Regions from separate parts of the Homo sapiens genome. Here all the other regions are linked to region 1. The links are contacts of gene promoters, found by promoter capture Hi-C in blood cells and fetal thymus (Javierre and others, 2016). All regions are on one chromosome and are shown on one strand. The core of a region is centred on a gene start or on the middle of the fragment in contact, and the rest is flanking DNA. Distances in the headings are between cores, read along the strand shown.

Evidence for each region. Contacts are between HindIII fragments. The CHiCAGO score rates a contact against its expected background, and 5 or more counts as called.
Region 2: a fragment that was not itself captured here is called in contact with the fragment with the promoter of DHRS13 in region 1 in 17 of 17 cell types (activated CD4 T cells, naive CD4 T cells, naive B cells and 14 more); the score reaches 34.2 in activated CD4 T cells.
Region 3: a contact is called between a fragment that was not itself captured here and the fragment with the promoter of DHRS13 in region 1, in 7 of 17 cell types (activated CD4 T cells, total B cells, naive B cells and 4 more). The highest score is 6.9, in activated CD4 T cells.

Annotation. Positions count from the first base shown.
Region 1 is chr17:28,900,788-28,905,365 of GRCh38, reverse strand. DHRS13 (dehydrogenase/reductase 13) reads left to right here and starts at 2,287. Exons shown (of 5, transcript NM_144683.4): 1 at 2,287-2,548; 2 at 2,665-2,783; 3 at 3,750-3,873; 4 at 4,065-4,376. The coding sequence starts at 2,422. It overlaps PHF12 (PHD finger protein 12), which reads left to right. Exons shown (of 15, transcript NM_001033561.2): 15 at 1-116. RefSeq lists silencers at 2,065-2,694, 3,196-3,388. The HindIII fragment of the contact is 5,010 bases long and covers 1-3,209 here.
Region 2 is chr17:28,762,494-28,767,254 of GRCh38, reverse strand. It overlaps FAM222B (family with sequence similarity 222 member B), which reads left to right. Exons shown (of 3, transcript NM_001077498.3): 2 at 548-669. The coding sequence starts at 588. Among named protein-coding and RNA genes, the nearest start is that of TRAF4, 21 kb to the right of the region's middle. The HindIII fragment of the contact is 532 bases long and covers 1,829-2,360 here.
Region 3 is chr17:28,701,331-28,706,224 of GRCh38, reverse strand. SUPT6H (SPT6 homolog, histone chaperone and transcription elongation factor) reads right to left here. Exons shown (of 37, transcript NM_003170.5): 37 at 3,546-4,786. The coding sequence ends at 4,600. It overlaps PROCA1 (protein interacting with cyclin A1), which reads left to right. Exons shown (of 5, transcript NM_001366301.1): 3 at 1,382-1,517; 4 at 1,790-1,918; 5 at 2,013-3,028. The coding sequence ends at 2,667. Among named protein-coding and RNA genes, the nearest start is that of PROCA1, 8.1 kb to the left of the region's middle. The HindIII fragment of the contact is 5,760 bases long and covers 1-4,894 here.

The DNA.
Region 1 (4,578 bases), core at 1,038-3,537:
TTCCCTCCTCTCCTCCCACCCCCACAACCAGTACCAATGTACATAGTAATTGTAATGTTTTAGACTTTACAGAAACTTTCCTGTATTCTGTATATAAAAAACAAAAATACTTCAAATTGTTTTCTGACTGTCTGTCCTACCTGTCATCACCCTTAGAGGAGACCCTCCCCTAGATCTGGGTCTAGCAGGTGGGGGGCCTTTTGAACAGGTCTCATTCCCATAGGGAAGTTTGGTAGGGGAGGTGTTGGAGAAAAGTGAGCCAGGGTGGGTGGATGACAATGGAATGACATGGGTGCGTCTGCTGGCCCGGGGGGAGCTGTTTCTCCAGAGAACCCTGACTGATAGTGGAATCTAGTCTTGACCTGTCACTTCTAGTCATGTGATCTGCAGTCACACTTCTCTACAACTGCTATTCCTCATCAAAAAACGAGTCTGCTGCATTACCTTAATTCTCAAGTCCCGGGGACCTTCATTAAACCAAATTCCATGCTTTCCTCCCAGATCTTAGTGAAAAACTCTCCAGGAAGTTTTCCTGAGGTCAGCCTCCTCAGATGGAGAGCACCTCTGTGTATATTCCAGCACTGTTTGTGTAGGTGCATCTGCTTGTGTGTCAGGATTTTGCCTTAGGGATAGAAAATGAATATTCTACCCCCAGCCTCATCCCACAGCATCTACAATGGAAACCCGAATCCGCAGTGCAGCTAAATAGGAAACTGGCCCTGGAATCTGAGGTCTGTCCCTGACTTTCATCTGCCCATGCAGGCGTCATCACTCTGCTCCCGGTGCCCTAATGGGCTTTTTGAACTCCCTAAGGACAGAAACTTGTATATCTTCCACTCGGAATTTCCAAGTCTAACTACACTGCTGGGCACACCATAAGTGCCAAATACCAGGTTCTAAATTGTACTGAATGTATCAGGCAACGGCCTTCTGCCCTGGAATGGTCTTACCCATTTGTTCCTAGCCAGCCCCACCCTTCCTGCCATCATGGTCACTTGTAATTGAGTGATGGAGCTTCTCTGCCTGTCTCTTATCACCTATGAGAACCATTCCAAAGGCAAATTTCCTCCTGAAAGGCAATAACAGATTTTACTCTCTATCTCTTCCTGCTTCCCTTCAGCCATGGAAGGCACTAGTGGGGTTGAGGTAGGGAGATACAGAGGGGGAATGAAGGAGTGAATTCTGACACCCCTTAACTGCCTGTGCCACCTTTAACAGTGTCCTCTCTAGCCTGTGTGGGGAGAACACGGAAGAATCCTAGAAGCTGGGGGCTGGATGTGAAGATAAGAAAACGAAGGATTTGGCCCAGTGCAGAGGCTCACACCTGTAATCCCAGCACTTTGAGAGGCTGAGGCAGGTGGGTCACTTAAGGTCAGAAGTTTGAGACCAACCTGGCCAACATAGTGAAAACCCTTCTCTACTAAAATACAAAAATTAGCCGGGTGTGGTGTCACACACCTGTGATCCCAGCTACTCTGGATTCTGAGGCAGGAGAATTGCTTGAACCCGGGAAGCGGAGGTTGCAGTGAGCCGGGATCACGCCACTGCACTCCAGCCTGGGCAACGAGAGTGAAACTCCGTCTCAAAAGAAAGAAAGAAAGGAAAGAAGGAAGGAAGGGAGGGAGGGAAGGAAGGAAGGAAGGAAGGGAGGAAGGAAGGAAGGGAAGGAAGGAAGGAAGGAAGGAAGGAAGGAAAGGAAAGGAAGGAAAGGAGAAGGATTTGTGCAGAAGGGAAGGAAGGAGAAGGATTTGTTCTTAGAGGGAAAAGCATCTAGGACTAGACTCAAAGACACACGTGTATTCATGTACACACCTAACTTCAGAAGGGAGGGACTGTGCTACATACACCTCGAGTAAACATATGGAGATATGCAAGCACATGCACTGGCAGAGACTACAGATGCAGGCACATACCTGGAGGGACTCTGCCAGAATGCACACAAACACCTACAAGGTGCTTACAGGAGCTCACACACAGGATCCAGAGGCACGCACACAACCCAAAGGGTGATCCTCAGGGACATGGGCACATACACACCTAGAGATCATTCACATACAAGCGTTGCAGATGCATGCACATACCTAGCGTGCACTCACAGGGTGTACGTGGACACACACACCCAGGAGTTCACACAGGCACACACCTAGGGGGCGCTCCCAGGGCCCAAGCGCACACACTCACCTCAAAGGTGTCCACAGAGGCACACGCCCCCAGGACGCCGACGCACGCCTAGGGGGCGCTCGCAGGGCCGGCGCGCACCCGCACGCGCACACGCCCCTGCCCAGCCTCCTGCCCGCCTCCGCCTTCGGAGGCTGACGCGCCCGGGCGCCGTTCCAGGCCTGTGCAGGGCGGATCGGCAGCCGCCTGGCGGCGATCCAGGGCGGTGCGGGGCCTGGGCGGGAGCCGGGAGGCGCGGCCGGCATGGAGGCGCTGCTGCTGGGCGCGGGGTTGCTGCTGGGCGCTTACGTGCTTGTCTACTACAACCTGGTGAAGGCCCCGCCGTGCGGCGGCATGGGCAACCTGCGGGGCCGCACGGCCGTGGTCACGGGTGAGTGCGGAGGCGGGTGAGTGCGAGCTGGCGGGGCGCGCGGAGAGGAGGCCGGGCCGGCGGTAGCAGCGGCCCGCCGGGCTCAGCTCAGCTCGGCTCCCGCCCGCGGTCCGCAGGCGCCAACAGCGGCATCGGAAAGATGACGGCGCTGGAGCTGGCGCGCCGGGGAGCGCGCGTGGTGCTGGCCTGCCGCAGCCAGGAGCGCGGGGAGGCGGCTGCCTTCGACCTCCGCCAGGTGAGAGGCAGCGGGGGCGCGTGGGACGGTGAGCCGAGAACCCGCCGGGACACAGAGAAGCCAGCAAAGGGGCTGCGGAGGATCCGGGTCCAGGGAGGAGAGCGCGGCGCGGGCGGCTGAGCGCGAAGAGGGAGTGCACGGAGCGCTGGGGTCACCCGAGGAAGGCGCACCAGAGCCGAGTGGGGGAGGGGCTTCCTGAAGGCCGTAATTGCAGTTCTGAGACGTTTAAGCATCAGTAGAAGTTGGGTTAATGATCAGTAGGAAAGGGAACAGCAGAGGGCACAGCATAAGCAAAGGCTCTGAGGCAAAGAGAGCTGGACTGATCTGAAAAACTGAGAAAAAGATTTAATGAGGCTGGAGCACAAAGTATGAGGAAGATGGGCAAATGAGGGGGCTGGAGAACATTCTAGAGCCTATTGAGAAGCTTGGATTTTATAGATTGGGCAGCAGAGACCAGTGGAGACCATGAACAGCCCTCAGTAGGCTCCGGACTGTCAGAATAGCCTTTGGAAGGAACTCCTTTGTGGCTGCGTGGTGCCTGGAGTGGGGGGGCAAGAGCGGGAGAGAGGAGACCAGTGAGAAGTTACAGATTTTAGGGTAAATGGTAATGGGGAAAGGAGGTGATAATAATAATAGCAAGTACCTACCCAGTGCTGCTAGAGTGTATTTTACACGTTAACTCCTTTCATCCTCACAAAAGCTCAGTGAGATTGGGACTGTTGTTATTATTATTCCCTTTACGCAGTGAGAGAACTGAGACCCAGAGAGATTAAGTATCTTGCCCAAGGTCACACTTTAGTAAAAGGCAAAGTCAGGATTTGAATCCACACACTTATCTAGTACACTCTAAGACACAGGGGCAGATTTTAGTAAACAGTAGGAGATGGACTCTCAGAATTTGGTGCCTGGGGAGAGGGAAGAGGAGAGAGATGCCTGGTGACAAGCCCAGCCCTTGCCTCTCCACAGGAGAGTGGGAACAATGAGGTCATCTTCATGGCCTTGGACTTGGCCAGTCTGGCCTCGGTGCGGGCCTTTGCCACTGCCTTTCTGAGCTCTGAGCCACGGTTGGACATCCTCATCCACAATGCCGGTGAGGGGCAGCAGGCCCTGCGTGGGGGTGGGGTGGCGGGTGGCCAGGGGCAACTGCCCCCTCCAGCGGGGGCCCTGCTGGGGCCAGTGGACACATGGGAAGGATGCCCCCTTCTCCCATCTCATAGATAGGGATGCCAAGGCTGCAGAGCTCCTTCTGGAGCAGCCGCTCACATTTAGCCTCTGCCCCAGGTATCAGTTCCTGTGGCCGGACCCGTGAGGCGTTTAACCTGCTGCTTCGGGTGAACCATATCGGTCCCTTTCTGCTGACACATCTGCTGCTGCCTTGCCTGAAGGCATGTGCCCCTAGCCGCGTGGTGGTGGTAGCCTCAGCTGCCCACTGTCGGGGACGTCTTGACTTCAAACGCCTGGACCGCCCAGTGGTGGGCTGGCGGCAGGAGCTGCGGGCATATGCTGACACTAAGCTGGCTAATGTACTGTTTGCCCGGGAGCTCGCCAACCAGCTTGAGGCCACTGGCGTCACCTGCTATGCAGCCCACCCAGGTGAGGTCTGGTTCTTTGGCTTCCGATTCCCCTCTCCTTTCCTTGCCCCATCCTGTGCCCCCCACACCACTACCGCCTCCCCACCCTCCATCCCTCATTGAGTCACAGAATCTCAGGGCAGCAAGGAAGCATAGTCCAAGGAGAGACCTGTTCCTTGCTGCTCTTGGAACCAGGTTCTCCTGGTTTAGGTTCTTCCTCTCAC
Region 2 (4,761 bases), core at 845-3,344, 140 kb after region 1:
GAACCTGGGAGGCAGAGGTTGCAGTGAGCCAAGATCGCACCATGGCACTCCAGCCTGGGCAACAAGAGTGAAACTCCGTCTCAAAAAAAATAAAATAAAAGTGGGTTCATATTACTGGCTCACAAGTCAGACATTGGGTACCTTTGCAATCATATAATGTGCTGCTTCTGAAAATGTCTGGCTGGTCTCCAACCAGGCCTATAAATGGGCTGGCTGAGCCAGGCCCTATGAGGGCCCACTCTCCTCAGGAATACTGAGACATTATAAATGCACCTGTACTTTCCAGTTGTATGAATAGGTGCTTTCCAGTTTTATTTCTCCCATCCATACATCTGTGGTAACTGAAAAATCATTTTAACCATAGTGATATTTGACAGCAAATTGTCGTCACAGATAAAGATGTAAGTATACTTTCAACCAACACACTGCTAATTAAATTGCTTTATGTGTCTAAACTTGGGCCTCACGCCAGTCATATCCAGTGTTCCTACTCTCTTCTTCGAATGAGTTGCCTTGTGTTTCATGACCTTGTTTTTGTTCATTACAGTGTGAGCCACTGCCCCATGTTGTGTTGATGCCAATCTGCCATGCTAGCCTGTCTACCAGGGCCAGGTGACCTGTCCTTTCAGCTTCTTTCTCACACGCAGATGAACACTGGACTTCAGAAATGTAAGTAATCTGGATCCTATGGAGCATGTGTGATTCTTTGTTTTTGTCTCTACATTTGGGCCGTCCTTGAAGCACATCTGGGGTACACTGACCTTGAATTTTGACACCTTTCTTTTTTTTTTTTTTTTAAGACGAAGTCTTGCTCTTGTCACCCAGGCTGGAGTGCAATGACGCGATCTTGATTGGCTCACTGCAACCTCTCCCTCCCGGGTTAAGCAATTCTCTTGCTTCAGCCTCCCGAGTAGCTGGGATTACAGGTGCCCACCACCATGCCTGGCTAATTTTCTATTTTTAGTAGAGATAGGGTTTCACCATGTTGGCCAGGCTGGTCTCAAACTCCTGATCTCAGGTGATGCCCCTAACTTGGCCTCCCAAAGTGCTGGGATTACAGGTGTGAGCCACTGTGTCCAGCCATTAGGGGTCTGCTTAAATTCTGTAATTCCCCATTGTATCTCAATTTTAATTGTTGCTGATAGCTTTCTGTTGAACAACAAAACTATAAAGAGCTTCAGGGGAAATATATATATATATATCACCCTTAAAAAAGGTGTTTCAGTTTGAACCTTCATAGGGAATTGAATGAAAACTCACAGTCCAGATTACTTACTATATCTCTGAAATAAACTATGCTGTTCTCTTGTTTTGAACTCTCTTAGTAGTCTACCATGGAAACAGACAGTTCCCTTTGGCTTTGCTACCTGCCTTCTGAGTCAGTGTGACTTTAGTTCACAGGAAGTCAGGGAGCTTTTGCCCTCAGAAGAGATGGAGAGCTAGCTTTCTCAGTCTCTCTGGGCATTTTCCTGCTAATACACTTCCCAGAAGATTGAGCCTTTGAAAACTGTTAGATTCTTGTCTTAACTTTCTGGAATTGGGGTTTTATACTTCATATTTTCCCGGACTCCTTCCTACCTTCTCTCCCTGTAATACATGATCTGCAAGGAAAATATTCTATTCTTGGCACATTACCATGTATAGTATCTTCAGGTGTAAAAACAGCCCTAAATTTGGAATAGACCTTCCATTCAGAGCACAAAGGGGAAATCATTGAGGTGGCTAGGCTTCCCTTTGATAGGAAAGGTGCTTCAGCACCTTAACTGAACCCCTTATGACAGGGGTTAACAAACTTTCTGTAAAGCCCAGATAGCCAATAATTTAAGCTTTGTGGGCCATGTGGTCTCTGTTGCATCTACTCAACTCTGGCATTGTAGGGCAACGGCAGCCACAGACAATAAACAAATGAGGGTGTCTGTGTTCCAGTGAAACTTTTTTACAAAAAAACAGCAACTGGACCAGGCACGCAGGCTGTCGTTTGCCAGCCCCTGCCATGTGAGAACATCATCAGAAGTTAAAAATGGTCCAGCCTTTAGACTTCATTTCTTTGAGAGAGCGTAAGACTCAGAGCCTGGCTAGTTCTGGAATTTGGCCAGTGAATCCAGCTCTATGTAATAACAGCTGAAGGTGGTAGTCCTCCTTCTACAGTTGCCTGACACAATAAGGCAAGCTCTGCTATAGCTTTCTCAACCCATCCTTTATCTTAATAAGTGATGATTGGGTGATGAAGGTGTTATGTTATACTCTCTGGTCATCCAAATCAGCATCCTAACTGCATCGTGCCTATTTCTGGGCTTCTGGGGACACAACTGGAGAGGGAACGTACTTAGAGGCATGCAGTAAGATGACAAAGAGAAGCTTCCTTTGTTCTGGGTTCCTTAACACACTCTGACAGCTTTACCCAAAGATGTGATATCAAGGGAAAAGCCATTTGGAGGACGGGCAAATTGGCAGCTTTATCTTGGTGTTCACTTTTATTATTTTTATTTTTTTTTTAATTATTTTTTTTAGATAGAGTTTTGCTCTTGTTGCTAGGCTGGAGTGCAATGGCGTGATCTCGGCTCAACGCAACCTCCGCCTTCTGGGTTCAAGCGATTCTCTACCTCAGCCTCTTGAGTAGCTGAGATTACAGGCATGCACCACCACGCCCAGCTAATTTTGTATTTTCAGTAGAGACAGGGTTTCTTCATGTTGGTCAGGCTGGTCTCGAACTCCCGACTTCAGGTGATCCGCCTGCCTCGGCCTCTCAAAGTGCTGGGATTACAGGTGTGAGCCACCACACCCAGCCCACTTTATTTTATTTTATTATTTTGAGGAGGACTTTTGCTCTTGTCACCCAGGCTGGAGTGCAGTGGCACGATCTCGGCTCACTGCAACCTCCGCCTCCCAAGTTCAAGTGATTCTCCCGCCTCAGTCTCCTGAGTAGTGGGATTACAGGCATGAGCCACCATGCCCGGCCCTTTTTTTTTTTTTTTTTTTTTTTGAGATGGAGTCTCCCTCTGTCACCCAGACTGGAGTGCAGTGGCGCAATCTCGGTTCACTGCAACCTCCATCTCCCGGGTTTAAGCAGTGCTCCTGCCTTAGTCTCTCGAGTAGCTCAGATTACAGGCATGCGCCACTGGAAATTTTTTCTTTCTTAATCCTAAACCTCTGCTCTGTATTTCCCCTTCTCAGGATCACAATATAGTAGTGGCTCTGTAAATATTTACTGTTTGAATAGCTGATAAAAGGTCCTTGGTCCTTAAACCATCTTCAGATAACAACTTTGATTTCCTTCCATGGCAGAACACTGGGGCTCTGGGGACAAATGCCAAAATTACCTTCTTTTACTGCTTCTTTATGTGCATATCTGCCCCCTAGTGGAGGGGTCTGGAAATGGCAGATTGACCCAATGACTGGATAAAGTCATAGAAATAATAGCTAACATTTGTCAAGTTGCTACCATGTGCCAGGCACTATATTGAATATTTTCACATATGTTGTCACCCATTCCTCAAAAATTCCATATGGAAGACTCTCTTGCCTTTGTCAGAAGGATAAGGTATAGAGAGAGGGTTTGTCACTTGCCAGTGCCACATGACAGTCCTGTGACTGGCCCATACTCAGCTCAGACTCTGAAATCTGTGTTTGAACACATTGCCTGTGCCTCTCTGCCTACAGATAGAGGTTCCTGTTGCCTATGCCACCTGTGCCCTCTGACCTTCAAAACAGAAGGATGAACAGAGAGGTCTCCATTGGGAGGACTGAATTTCAGGCAGAAAATTGCCTCCAGTCCATCCTGGAATAGACAGCAGTGCTTTCTGTTACATTTAACTCTCAGGCTGAAGGCCAGGTTGTCCTGCAGTTGGGGCTTCCTTAGTCAGTTTTCTTTGTGTTGTCTGTGGTCAGACTCAGCCACATCTGCTATCCTTGAATGGTAACTATTGACCATCATTGTTTCATTTTCAATGAAAATGCTCATTTAGTGAAAATGTTCATTGACTCTCGATCTTAGTAATTCTGTGAAGTAGGAGAGCAGAATTCATCCCTGTTGATAATTGAGGAATGACAGGCTCTCAGTATGGGCAAATGATGAAGCTAGTACTTGAATACAGGTTTCTCTAACCCTTTACAAACTACAGATTTCCTATTCCCTACATTGTCTATGTCTCTATTAATGACACTATTGGTATAAGCTATTTAAGTAAGTCGCTTACAAAGCTGTGGTATCTGTGTTGGCTGTGTAGTTACAGAAATACATTACAGAAGAAAATAAGTAGTCAGGGTGCCTGTGTGGGGGCTGTGATAAGTGTTGAGAAAACTTTTTTTTTTTTTTTTGAGACGGAGTCTTACTCTGTCACCCAGGTTGGAGTGCAGTGGTGCGATCTTGGCTCACTGCAACCCTGCCTCCCGGGTTTAAGCAATTCTTTGCCTCAGCCTCCCGAGTAGCTGGGATTACAGGCACCTGCCACCATGCCCGGCTAATTTTTTGTATTTTTTTAGTAGAGACGGGGTTTCTCCATCTTGGCCAGGCTGGTCTTGAACTCCTGACCTCGTGATCCACCCACCTCGGCCTCCCAAAGTGCTGGGATTACAGGCGTGAGCCACCATGCCCAGCTGAGAAAACTTTTTTTTTTTTTTTTTTTTTTGAGATGGAGTCTCGCTCTGTCACCCAGGCTGGAGTGCAGTGGTGCAATCTTTGCTCACTGCAACCTCCACCTGCCGGGTTCAAGCAATTCTCCTGCCTCAGCCTCCCAAGTAGCTGGGACTACAAGTGCGCTC
Region 3 (4,894 bases), core at 1,251-3,750, 200 kb after region 1:
GTGGTGAAGTTTCAGGGTCCTGCCACATACCCATGCCTTCCTCATCTTCCCGGGGGATAAAGGGTACAAGAGGGGAGGAGAGAGACACAGATCACCCATGGGTCAGCAGTGTAGTGAGGACCCAGGACTTCACAGCCTTGTGTGGGGAAGGGAAGGAGGAAGAAATGTGGGTAAGCCTCAGGCCAAGCTGCTGCACTGTGAGGCCACTTGGACTCACACCCACAGCCTGGGCTCATTCCTGGCTGGTGGCCGGTATGAGGTCTCACCCTAGTTCCACTCCTCGTGGGGGCTGGCAAAGGCACAATCCTCGGCCTGTTTGAGGGTAACCCAGCCACAGCACCCCAAGCCAGTGCCTGCTCCCTCCCTCCCCTAGGAGTGCTGGGGAATCCGAGGTAAGGTCCCTTGTCCTTTGTCGTGTGAGTGAGATTCTGGGCTGTGAGAGGCGCAGAGTCGCCTCATGGGCTTACCTTTGAGATAGAGGCCTGAGGGGACAGCCGGGCCTTAGGCAGTGTCAGAGGTGAGGCAGTGGTGGTAGACCGGGGAAACTCCTGTCTTCAGGACTGGCATTGAGCTGAGCAGCAGAGGTGGGGGCCTTTCTCCAGGGCTTTTCCCTAACCCCAAATTCTCACCCCAGCAGCTTCTTCCTGTGCCCTGGGAAAGGGGATGTGGTCTCTGTGCTGCCTAAAAGGGTGCTTAGGCTGGGGGTGGGTCATTCGAAAGCCTGGGGCTCTAGGGACTGGGGAGAGTGTGGGAAGGTGCTGAGTGAAGAGCAGGGAAAGGATCAAGAAGGGGGCATGGGAAGGGAGGGGAGTGAGAAAGGTGTCAGGCAGGAGAAAAAAAGGGGCTTGAAGGAGAAGGGAGGAGGGGGAAGTGGGGAGGGAAGGACGAGTCAGAAGCTAAGGAGCATGATGCAGGCCTTAGCTCCTGGCCAGGCTGTGAGAGATCAGCGTGGGCCAGGGCAGGTGTAGGAACTGAGGATGCTGCGGCTCTGCTGCTCCTGGGGCTGTGGGGTGCCATAGCAGGAGGGCCTTCTCCTACCAGGCGCCTTGTGGAGCAGGGCTGCCACTCATTGTCAGCACCTGGTTGAGGGGCAGGCAGGAGCTGGTGGAGGCCTCCCACTGGAGGGAGAGGACAGAAGTAACAGGGAATCACAGGACTGCAGGGGGCTTGATAAGGGTCTCCTGTGTATCAGACATGGAACCAGACACTTTGCTGGGACATGGGGTTACTCTGCGGCCAAGTTACTACTACTGAAGCAGAAACACTTCTTGGGGTGGACAGCTGGTGGTGGCAGGTGAATTTGGTGAGGTTTTAGCTTGAGCTGTGGGAAGACCCAGAGGTCTGCGGCTGCTACTGATGACCCAGACTCCTGCCCCCTCAGGTGACTGCAAGGAGCCTGACAAGTGCTGCTGGAGACACAAGCAGTGCACTGGGCACATCATCTACCCTTTCGCCTCTGACTGTGTCCGCCACAGCCTGCACCTACACTCTGTCAACCACTGCAACTGTAATTCTAGGTGAGGGCCCGCCCCCTTGGGGGACCCATGGCAGAGCCAGGTCCGAACTTTCATTGTGGTCTCCCCTTCAACCTTTGGTTTGCCTCTTCAGCTTTGAATTGGTGCTGCCAGCCCAGTCCCAGCTCTGCACACCTTGCTCTGCTCTAAGAGAAATGGGGAGGAGGTCTGTTGGCCTGAGGCAGGCCCAGCGGAAGCCCACTGTCCCTCAGGCTTCTGGCTCTGGGTCCCTGGGGGAGTGATGGGAGCCAGGCTGAGAGTCCCATGTGTGGCAGGCTGAAGGACTCTTCAGAGGATAGCAGCAGCTCCCGGGGCGCGGGCCCAACCTGCTCCCATGTCATCGAGTCCCCTTGCTTTGAGCTCACACCGGAGGAGGAGCATGTGGAGCGATTCCGGTATGGCTGGTGAGTGAGCCCCGGTGGGCTGATGGGGAAGGGGCCTCTACAGGGCACTGCCCCCCACTCTCTGTCAAACTTCCCCCGTTGTCCCTTCTCCCAGGTGCAAAAGCTACAGACCTGTCTCTGTGGCAGTGATCCACCATCCACTCTACCATGAGTGTGGGGCAGATGATCTAAATGAAGAAGAGGAAGAGGAGGAGGAGGAAAGCAAGCCCCCCATCCCGACACAGGTGGGGCCCGCCACCGCCTCCCCTGACCTAGGCACCAGCATGGCCACTGGTACCCCTGACTCCACAGCGCCCATCACCATCTGGCGCTCTGAGAGCCCCACAGGGAAGGGTCAGGGCAGCAAGGTGATCAAGAAGGTAAAGAAGAAAAAGGAAAAAGAGAAAGACAAGGAGGAGATGGATGAGAAGGCAAAGCTGAAGAAAAAAGCCAAGAAAGGCCAGTTGACTAAGAAGAAAAGCCCGGTTAAATTGGAGCCTTCCCCGCCAGACGTGAGCCGATCATTAAGCGCAAGACAGCTGGCCAGGATGTCCGAGTCCAGCCCAGAAAGCCGGGAAGAGCTGGAGAGCGAGGACAGTTACAATGGCCGGGGGCAGGGAGAACTGTCCAGCGAGGATATTGTGGAATCATCATCGCCCAGGAAGAGAGAGAACACAGTCCAGGCCAAAAAGACAGGGGCAAAGCCCTCACAAGCCAGGAAGGTAAACAAGAGAAAATCTCCCCCAGGATCAAACCCCAACCTCAGTTGAGGCCAGGGTGGTCAGGGTGCAGAATAAATGCCATCGAGCCTGTGGCTGGCCCTCTGCTGCTGTTCTCTCCCTCCAACCTGGCTGTTTCTTGCGGGGCAAGGGGTGGGCTCAGGGCTGCAGGGGTTTCTCAAAGGCAATCCAGCTTTCACAAAGGAAGCCCATGGGAAGGCAGGTGGGAGGGAAAGGAAGGGGCACAGCCCTATTTCTTCCTACCTGCTAGGACAAGGTGGAAGAGTGTATCTGGGGTGGGAAGGAGGGCTTCCCCTCTCTGCTGCGAGAGACTGGTCTGTGTGAAATCCACTTCTGGGACAGGCAGTACTGTCTGCAGCGATACCCCCAATAAACGGAACTTTTTAACCCACTCTGTGCCACTGTGCCTGGCCTTTCCCTCCTCTAAGTGGCTCTGCAGAAGGTGCTCGTGGTACTACCAGAGACTGACCTTCCCAGCTGGTGGTCTAGCTCCTCCCTTGTAGCCCTTTTGTGCTGAAGGGAGCTGACTTGAGTTCCTGGCAGAGCTGGCCCCTTCCCCCAGATCTTGATGAAGAAAAACAAGGGGAGGGAGTGTGCCACGTCTGGGCAGCAGTGGCCTTTTCTGACTTCTCTGCTGAGCCCCAAGCAAAGGAAAGGGAGCCAGAGGCCCCACTCTCCCAGCATTGACTCACAGAGCTGTGAGACGAAGCCCTTGTGCAGAAACAGGGATGGCAGGAGTTCAGAACAAAAAATGCAGTGGGGCAGGGACAAAGGGCCAGGGCCAGTGTGTTGGAGGGGAGCAGGTGAGCAGGGCCCCATCCTGGGGCAGGAACACCTTACTGCTGAGAGCTTGCAAGAGACCAAGGCCCAGCTGGGAAAAGGGAAGAGATGAACGGCAGAGGCTCAAGTTGAGAAATCCAGATTTACTTGTGGCCTTTCTCCAGGGTGCCAGAGAAGACCAGCAGGCATGGGCGGATGGGGCAGCTGTGCTGTGGGTGAGTGAGTGGGTGTAATAATACCGGGTAACATTTGCGACGTACCAGGCGTTGGGCCAAGGAGCTTGCACACGCTGCCTTGGTCCTCACAGCAGCTGATGAGGCAGGTATCACTATCTCCATGTTACAGGTAAGAAAGCCAGCTGAAAGGCAGCAGGAACTGGCACAGGGTCACCCGGCTGGGAAGTAGAGCAGGGATGTGCCCCAGGCAGTCTGATGTAGAAGCTGCCTCTAGTCTATGAATCTTTGCCTCTGATGGATCAGAAGAGGGAGTCAGGGGAGTCCTTGGAGCTCCAAACACTGCTTTGAAAGCCACCCCTCAAAGAGCTGGAGAGTTGGAGAGAGAGGCTTTGGCAAGAGCTCAATAGAAACACTGTTTATTCAAATGACAGGCAGGAAGCGGTGGCAGCAGCAGGGGGGAAAGGGCAGCCAGGCAGGGGCTGGGCAGTGCTTCCCTGTGTCCCCTGCAATCCTGCTTGGACAGCCACCCGGCTGTTGGCATCAGGGTCAGAAATACTTTCCCTCCTCTCCCTCCTGCCCCAAACTGAATAAATAGCATCCCTCTCCCCACGAGAGCTAGGGGAGACTCATGTGCTGAGTTTGGTGCCCCAGTCACAGCCCAGAGTCCGGTGAGGGCAGAAGTTCAAAATGGCTTGTAGGGAGTAGAATACAAAACTGTTCTACTCATTCTCACCTTCCTCTTCCTCCTCCCTGCCACACTCCCCTCCCAGCCTGGTCCCAGGACAGGTGGTCGGTGAGGGTCTGGAGCGGGAGAATTGTTGCCTAGCATACACTGAGCTCAAGTTCACAAGGCCATCCAGCCTGTCACCCATCCGGGTTGACCACCAAAGAGAACGTCTCACTTCACGCCACTTTATGGACATAAAAGGAGGGGCAGGGAGGGAGGCAGTGGGCAGCCAGGCCTTTCCCAGCCTCAGAGGTAACCAGAGTCCGAGGAGCAGGCCCCCTACCGATCCATCTCGTCCAGGAGTGGGGTGGCATCGCCAGCAATGGACATGGGGGTGCTTTCGATCATGGGGCTGGGGGAGGGCCGAGGTGTCAGCCGCTGCTTCTGTTTCCGCCGTTCTGCCTCCTTTTCCTGCAGCCACTGCTCCGCCATTTTTCCCCAGTCGATGGCTGCATGGCTGTTGGACCTGGGAGGGGAAGAAAAGTTGAGATTGGGACTTTGCTAGAAGGAAGTCTTCCCACCAATCACTGTACCCTTGCAGAAAGGAACCTCATACCTATGGGCAGCAGCCCCT